Regions from separate parts of the Homo sapiens genome. Here all the other regions are linked to region 3. The links are contacts of gene promoters, found by promoter capture Hi-C in blood cells and fetal thymus (Javierre and others, 2016). All regions are on one chromosome and are shown on one strand. The core of a region is centred on a gene start or on the middle of the fragment in contact, and the rest is flanking DNA. Distances in the headings are between cores, read along the strand shown. Region 1 has its middle 30 kb from the start of RANBP6. Region 2 holds the start of LOC124902117 (a long non-coding RNA gene). Region 3 holds the start of UHRF2 (ubiquitin like with PHD and ring finger domains 2).

Evidence for each region. Contacts are between HindIII fragments. The CHiCAGO score rates a contact against its expected background, and 5 or more counts as called.
Region 1: a fragment that was not itself captured here is called in contact with the fragment with the promoter of UHRF2 in region 3 in 1 of 17 cell types (monocytes); the score reaches 5.0 in monocytes.
Region 2: a fragment that was not itself captured here is called in contact with the fragment with the promoter of UHRF2 in region 3 in 1 of 17 cell types (non-activated CD4 T cells); the score reaches 5.2 in non-activated CD4 T cells.

Annotation. Positions count from the first base shown.
Region 1 is chr9:6,044,494-6,047,372 of GRCh38, reverse strand. No RefSeq gene overlaps it. Among named protein-coding and RNA genes, the nearest start is that of RANBP6, 30 kb to the right of the region's middle. The HindIII fragment of the contact is 2,474 bases long and covers 330-2,803 here.
Region 2 is chr9:6,715,612-6,718,311 of GRCh38, reverse strand. It overlaps LOC124902117 (a long non-coding RNA gene), which reads right to left and starts at 2,130. Exons shown (of 4, transcript XR_007061412.1): 1 at 1,696-2,130; 2 at 1-439. RefSeq lists an enhancer at 1,800-2,019. The HindIII fragment of the contact is 2,276 bases long and covers 264-2,539 here.
Region 3 is chr9:6,411,771-6,414,523 of GRCh38, reverse strand. UHRF2 (ubiquitin like with PHD and ring finger domains 2) reads right to left here and starts at 1,325. Exons shown (of 16, transcript NM_152896.3): 1 at 881-1,325. The coding sequence starts at 1,033. RefSeq lists silencers at 508-937, 1,008-1,187, 1,468-1,607. The HindIII fragment of the contact is 4,095 bases long and covers 1-2,753 here.

The sequences.
Region 1 (2,879 bases), core at 317-2,816, 370 kb after region 3:
GTTCCGGTCTTCTTCTGCTGCTTTCTAATTGTATGACTTCAGACAAGTTAACTTCTTTGAGAGTAGGAAATGTTCTGACCCACAGTCAATGAATCACTTGTGATGATGCTAATCGAAAAGGTCTTTTATTATTCTCAAAGAGTTAAGTAGGTGTTAACCCTATCCAGTGCTAGAACTAATTTAATGAGTGGTGGGGAGTATATGAGTAGGAGCATATTCATTGGTCCAGCCATTATGACATCTCTATCACATTTTCTTTATTTTTAATGATACATCATTTTCTCCATTAAAAAAAAACAGGGGTAAAGATCGAGTAAATGCCACAAGCTTAGAATATTGCACTGAATTGTTATGTAAATCAAAGCAACATCTTTAAAACAAATCAGAGCTCTTAAGAAACTTTATATGAAAACAAAAAAAAAACCAATGAACATAAAGCCATATTTTTATACAAAGTATATATAGTGTGTACATATTGTGTATCCTCTTTTTTCCATATAAACATTTCAACATGTCTTAAAGTATCGTGGGTGTTTTTTCCAAGATGGCGGATTGGAGGCATCATTAGCATGCCTCTCCCAGTTGGAAAGACAAAATTGTGTGTAGAGATTCACACTGTGAACTTTATTTCAAGAAGCAACACAGGAACTTAACAGGAAAACTGATGGAAACCAGACCCTTTGAAAGAAGCGGCAGGCTGCAGCCTACACCATGAGCCAGGCGTAAACCTGAAAATCCCCAGAGTGTGAGCAGGGAGAAGCTGCCTCTGGGATATACATTTCCACCGGAGAACCTGGCAATCCAGGCCACAAGGGAAGGTTTTAACCCTACCCAGTGCTAGAGCTAATGCAGTGAACGGTGGGGAGCATATGAGAAGGAGTAGCATTGGGACATGCTGTGTGTGCACTCCCAGTCTCCAGTGGGGACAGAGGGAAGCCATTCTTGATCCTGCCTCACAGGGTACTTCACTTTAGAAGTCAGCCAGCTAATTCAGGCAGCAGTCACAGGACGAGAGAAGCTCCCAATGGAGATTAAGCAGGAGCTGCGTGCCCCTGCTTCTTGGGCAGACCAGGAGGAGTGTGGCCTGAAAGCCTCAATATCTGCCTCCATGGAGAAGGCTTATGGTCTGCGGCAGTTTTGAGTTCTGATCATAGGCCTTAAACCCAGTGAGCTGCTGCTAGTGGAACATTCCAGGTGCGAGACCTGCCTTGCCAAGTGCATGGAAACTAGGTGCGGCTTACTGCCACCTGCTGCTCCCCACTCCCCTTGTAGACTCTTCTATTCAGCAGAAGCAGCTGTACTCCCTCATGGAACAGTGCTCCAGCAGCCAGAGAACTGCTCTGATCCCCACTGGGGCCACTGCTTGCGTCTGCACACCAAGAACCAGCCTCTACCTGGCTTTGCCCCTCCACCAGAGCTAATCACCTAACACAAAGGACAGAAACTTTGGGGAGCCCTATGGCCCTGCTCATTGCCTGAGATACCAGAGTACTTCCCCTGGGTAACAGAAGGCAAGCACAAACGAAGGTCACATTTCAGGAAATACGTGAATGAAGGAAGAGAGGTAGCTTGGCACATGAGCACATTTTTTAGGAAGTGATGTGATGAAACGATCAAAGATGGAGGCCAGCTGATACAGCCACTACAGCATCTTCAGGCAGAAGAACACAGTGCTCAGGAAGGCGAAAACTTGTGCATGACCTCAGCTATCACAATTGCTTTCATTACCCTACTAACCAGGAGGTCCTAAGTCTGTCCGTGTGACCAGTTCATTACTACTACAGCTGGCATTTGAGAAAGCCAACACACCAAGGCTATTTATAACCAAAGAATCTCACAGAGTCTACATCACTCCCCAGCCACCTCTATCTGATCTGGTGCTGGTACCCACTGCTGGGAGACTTGAGGACAGGTCACATCATTGGATCCCTTGCAGACATTCCTTAGCACCGGCCTGGAGGATGGCAGCCCAACTGGACAGCTAGACACAGAGGAGCAGCAGCATTCACAGTAGTCTGGCCTTCAGGGACTCCTACTCCTGGGGAAAGGGGGGTATACCTTATCAAGGGAGTACCCCCATGGGACAAAAGAATCCAGGTGGCAAACCTTGAGTCCCAGGACTTTCTTCTTGTGGGAAGTTTATTTCAGCAGAGGTACAGATGCAGTGCTGAGCCCAGTGGGGGAAAGTCTATGACTCTACCCAACAGGCAGCCCTGGTGCTCATGAAGGGTCTTGGAGAAGGGGATTTCTTCTTCCCCTCACCCACCACTGCAGACACAGCTGGGGCTTCTCCCATAGGAGCTCAGCATGGGTGCAAACAGTAGACAGCCTTTTGGGAACACTTTAGGGTGACTGCATCCCCACAGAAGGAGTACCCTCCAGGTTCAGACTTGCATGAGGAATAGAGATCACCATCCCTCTCTACATGGAATATCAACATTCCTGCAAATGAAAAGAGGTGCCTGTCTGATCTGAATAGCCAGAACACTGGGTCAGGAGTTTGACTGGAAAGTGGATAGCTTTCCTGCTGGACTGGCAGGGAAGCTGAGGTGGCTCCCACTTTTCCTCCTGATAAGACCTCAGTGTGTTTCACTGAGAACTCCCCCAGCCATTTCTGTCAAGGCTGGGACCTCTGCCCACCATTGGGTATTGCGTTTACCCAACTGCTTTAGCCACAGCCAATGTTTAACCATGGACACCTGCTCTACTGGCCTGAAGCCTGAACTGTTCAACCCAGTAAATGAAATACTGGGGGAAAAATAAATAAATAAAAAGTGCACACCACTGGGGAGTGAGATAAGCTTCAAGAGGCCTCTGCCATTCCCACAGGAGACAGTGAATCTGCTCACACACCATGCATATTGCTACTACACCCAGCA
Region 2 (2,700 bases), core at 152-2,651, 300 kb before region 3:
AAGATGCAAAGCAAGGAGGATCAGGCAGCTCATGCCCAAATTCTGACCTCCCTGATGCCTTGCAGTTTTCTTTTTCTGTTCTTTTTTTTTTTTAAGGCTGGGGTAAATTTCAGGAAAGCCAAAGTTACAGGCAAAATTGTAAATCAATAGATGGAGGTTACACTTTGGTTCTGGCCTAAAAAGGCAGGATATCTTGAAATAAGGGCTTATAGTCATAGGTAGATTCAAAGATTTTTCTCATTTGCAATGGGTTAAGAGAAGCTTCGTTTAAATTTTGGGGACAGCAGAAGAGAATATTAGCTCAGGATTGTAGATGTGATCCCTCCAAGCCCCTGAGAAAGAAATTTTCAACAAAGAACAGTGGTCAGACTTCAGTCTTCAGTTCCCCCTTCTCTGAGGTCTAGGTGCCAGCAGATCCATTCAGTAGGGGTCCAGGTTTCTGAAAAACAATTGAAAGACCTATGTTAAAATGTTATCTTCCATTTCTACACAAAACCAAATACCCCATGATTTTAACTTCCTTGGCTATCATTTTAAGCTACTATTAACTTTTTATTAAGTTACTTATTTACTCTCAGGGCTAGCTATGTGCTGGTAATTTCTCTTGAAAGAACTCAAGACTTTTTTTTATTTCTATGCTTAGATACTCAGCAAGCCTTTAAGAGGGGGTCCCTGCCCTGTCTCATAGGGAGGAGCTTCTTTTTCGCCATTTTCTTTCTCTCTCTATTTTTTTTCAATATCGGCTGGGTCTCCCTATGTTGCCTAGGCTGGTCTTGGGCTCCTGGCCTCTAGCGACCCTCCCTCATCAGCCTCCCAAAGTGCTGGGATTACAGGTGTGAGCCACTGCGTCCCGTCCCTCTTTTCCTCCCCTCCCCTTCCCTCTCCTTTCCTTTCCCTTCTTTCTTTCTCTCTCTCTCTCTTTCTTTTTTTTTTTCTTTTCTGAGGTGCAGTTTCGCTCTTGTTGCCAAGGCTGGAGTGCAATGGCGCAGTCTCGGCTCACAGCAACTTCCGCCTCCCGGGTTGAAGCGATTCTCCTGCCTCAGCCTCCCGAGTAGCTGTGATTACAGGCATGCGCCACTATGCCCGGCTACTTTTGTATTTTTAGTGGAGACAGGGTTTCTCCCCATGTTGGTCAGTTTGGTCTCGAACTCCCGACCTCAGGTGATCCGCCTGCCTCAGCCTTCCAAAGTGCTGGGATTACAGGCATGAGCCACTGCGCCCGGCCTTATTTGCTATTTTCTATGCATGCGAGGTATGTAGAAACATGATAGAAAACTGCACCAGCACGGCTTTTGCTCCACCTCTACATACGACTAATAAAAGCACTGTTTTCACCTTTGTTCAGGGAGGCACCGCTTTAAGAATTACCCCCAGTGTTTCCTTACTTGTTGCAAGTAATAACATCCCCTTGTCAAATCCTTGGTTGTGGTCACGGTACTGTCACCCACCAAGTAAGCAAACTCACCCACTGGGTGGGGAATAGTCCTGCAAGAAAAAGTCTTGGCAGGAGGGACAAAGGTCAGCCAGAGGGTCACTCCACCATCCTCACAGTCTCAACAAGAATAGGGAACACAAGAGAAAACTGCCCTACTGGCCCTTGCTTTCCCTATCTGCGGCCTCCGGAATCCGGTGTGGAAGAAGTGTTCAGAAACTGTGCTGAGGCCCTTCCCTATTCCCCCACGCCATCCACCTTACCCCAGTGGCAACTTTCTGGCCGGACAGGTCAGGAGCCCAGCTAAAAAGGTGAGTGGGCCATCAGCCTATACAGGCAACGAGAGTGTCAACCGCCAGATTACTACTGCCAGTTACGAAAAAACGGTCCTCTGGAAGCGACGTTCTCTGTGCGCCACGTAACACGCTGCAGGAAAGGTACACTGGGGGGTATCACGTGACCGTCAACCGCTGGGGCGAGCAGGCGCCTAGAACCCAGCGATCGTCCATGGCCAGGGAGCTTCCAGTCACGTTCCTCTCTCTAATACCATCCTCCGCGCCTCACCTAAGCAAGCGCCACCTTCTCGCAGCTTCCTGCCCCCTAAAGCCTCGGAAGTCCTGGCCCTCCCAAGGTGGGGAAACGGAGGAACGGACGTGAAGGGAGCTGTGGGACGCGCGACCGTGGAGCTGGACTGCACCGAGTCCCAGCGCGCATCCGGGCTCCGGGAGTCCCACCGAGCCGTGACGTCAGAGGCGGGGCCGAGCACTGGGCGACCTCTGAGCTCGGGGCTTCGCGGGTCCGGCGGCCTCTTGTTTCGCCTTCTTGCTCTTGGGCCATCTTCCCTAAGTGGGAAGACCTAGGTTTTGCCAATCGGTTACCCGAGACCTTGGAGCAACGGCCGCGTTTGTTTGCAAAACTCTCCTCATTGTGTGGCACCCGCCCTGCGCAGGTGGAGCCTTTAAATGGGAACACCTGGACGAGGCTCTGATGGGAAACGGGGGCTGGAAGTTTGTCAGGAGCACGGAGACAGGTCGCCCTTCGGCCTGAATTTGGCGTAACTAGGACTGTGGGTACCTCCTGGCCCCAGACTGTTTACCAAAGCAAGCTTGCTGCAAGCTGTTGTAGATAAGCTTTAACCTCCGCTGGTCCTAGGTGCTCTGAAGACCTTCGGCTTTTTATTTTATTTTATTTTTTGAGATAGAATTTCGCTGTCGCCCAGGCTGGAGTGCAGTGGCGCCATCTCGGCTTACTGCAACCGCAGCCTCCTG
Region 3 (2,753 bases), core at 76-2,575:
AATAGGAAAAAAACTTAGACTGGCCAGACCATAAAAATACCAGAGATGCCCACAGACAGCCTTCAAGTATGCACCGCTGGCTATGCTGCAGTGCTATGCTTAAAGCGTGAACGACATGAGTATTAGAAGGCGAGAAGTAAGAAAAGCAAACAGTCTTACACTCCTTTTCACTTCGGGAATAAAACTCTTGGCTTATATAGGGCATTCGTAAACCCGGCCCCCGGTTAAACCGACAGTTTCTTCATGCCCAGGTCTCTAACCTCCCTCGAGACATTCCAAACCTAGGAAAGGCGGCGAGGGAGAGGGACCAGAAGTTCTGGAAACCCTTCGAATCTTCAGTTTGCGCGAATCCTACCACAGTCAGGAAGCAGAGTTAGGGTTCTTATTCTTGAGAGCTCAATGCCCGAGTTTCCCCTGTTTGAGAGCCGAAGACGCGGAAGAGCCGCGGAAGCCAGGCGAACGCTCAGCCGGGTTAGCCAGCTCTCCGGGTCTCCCGCGCGGTGGCATGGCCGCCAGAGCCCTCTGCCCTCCCCGCCCTCTGGGGGCCCCAGGCCCCGCCGAGCGCGGGAAGCGAGGGACCTGGGCACCCAGTGCCTACGGCCGCTGTCCTACCAAATACAAACGGCGAGATATTTGCGCTCCGGACGCCCTCACTTCTGACCCCGCGCGGCGCACCTCCAGTTGGGGCTGGCAGGGACCCACTCCCCACCATTCGGCGGGACTGGGCCCCGCACCCCGCGCCTCGCGGGGGCTGCCCACCCGCAGCGGAGCCAGGTGAGCCCTGCGCGCGCGGCGCACAGAGCCCTCGGACCGGTGCGTCCAGAGGAGCCCAGCTGTTCCGGCCCCCAGCCTCGCTAGGGGCGCGGCGGGCGCGCCTCACCTGCTTGCCCCGGTAGAAGAGGCGCTGGCATTCGGGCCGCACGTCGAACAGCGCCCACACCCGCTCGCGCAGCTCCTCAATCGTGGCTTTGCGAGACACGTCCTCAATGGTGCACGTCTTGGAGCCATCAATGGTGCGAACCTGTATCCACATCTTGGCGCCTAGAGAGGAACCGGTCCCCTTTGTCTCCCCCTGAGCTCTGGGCGCCGCGCCCCGCCCGGCCCGCGCCGCTTTCCCTGCGGCTCGGGCCCTCAGCGGCAGGCGGGCGAGCGCGCCCACCGGACCGACCGGACGCCGGGCCCGACAGGCGGCGACGACTCTCAGCGCGCGCGCCCGACTAGCCGACTTGAGGAGAGACGACCGGAACCACTCTGAGGCGCTGCCGCAGACACCGCCTCAAAGATAGGAAGAGGCCATGTCTGCGCCGCGCAGAGTGTTTACTTATAGAGCTGGAGCTCCCACATGGAGGTCACGGCGCCAAGCCGGATCTCGCGAGATCCACGCCGGGCTCCGCCTTAAAGAGGAAGCGGCCCGGGAGAGGGTTACAGACCCGAGGGAACGAAAATGGGCAGGCGCGGAGAGGGCGGGTCGGAGGGGCGGGGCTACCAAAAGCCGTTACTTGCCCCACCGCCTGCACCTGGCCACTGGGCACGCCCTCTAGCCTTTGGGTTTCGGAAGATTGCGCGGCTACCACATCGGTTGCCGTTTTGAGGCCTCGTTTCAGAGCTGAGGGGGCGGGTGCCTCCTCAGGCTTAGCGGATATGGTTCTTTGGTCTCAAAAACACACCAAAAATAAGAAACCCTGGCGTGCACTTGTATAATCCTGGAAAGGGGGCGCGGGTGGGTGCGGCCTAAACTTCCGAGAAAGAACTGAAGGAAATGTGTGCGCTCCACCGCGCTCAACAGGAAAGCTCCCGCCACGCGGCCTGGCGGGTCGGGTCGCCCGGGAAAGGCCCCGGGGGCCCTCCTGCTTCGCGAACACGTTTCCCGCCTGGCCGCAATGCTACTTTCGCGCGGAAACCCACTTCCGAGGGTTTCCCGTCGCCTGGCGGAGGCGGCAGCTCCAGGCCTATCCTCAGGCCGCGGGTCCCGCTGGGATCGCCCTCTCTGGCTTGCAGCGCTCCCAGCCGGCCCTCCGGCCTTGGAGAAGTCGGGGCAGCTGCCCGAAAGGCCGCTCTCTAACTCCGGACATTTCCGTTCGTAGACTTTCCGCGTTAGGGGTGCCTTTGGCCTAAGGGATTGCGGGTTTGCGGGAAACAGTTTTAAATAATGCAGAGCTACGCGCCTCCGAAGAAAGAACTCCAAAGACCCTACTAGGATTAAACCCTCAGAAGTGGGCCCAACGCAGCACTACCTAACAGGGCTTCCCCCACCCCCCACCCCGCCTTCTTAATCCTTCCCTGCTACAGCTGGGGAGTCGGGGTGGGGGTGAGTGGGTTTATTTTATTTTATTTATTATGTATGTATGTATGTATGTATGTATGTATTTAGAGACGGAATCTCTCTCTGTCGCCCAGGCTGGAGTGCAGTGGCGCGATCTCGGCTCACTGCAAGCTCCGCCTCCCGGGTTCACGCCATTCTCCTGCCTCAGCCTCCCTGGGGTAGCTGGGACTACAGGCGCCCGCCACCGCGCCCGGCTAATAGTCTCGATCTCCTGACCTCGTGATCCACCCGCCTCGGCCTTCCAAAGTGCTGGGATTACAGGCGTGAGCCACCGCGCCCGGCCAAGTGGGTTTATTTTAAATGAAAATATGTCTTCTCAAGAAGGGAGAGAGGATATAAACGTAAACAAAACAAGACAACTTGGACTTCACATTTGCCAAAATCGGTAACTTAAATATTCACATAGGTGCTAATTATTCCCATAAAGGTA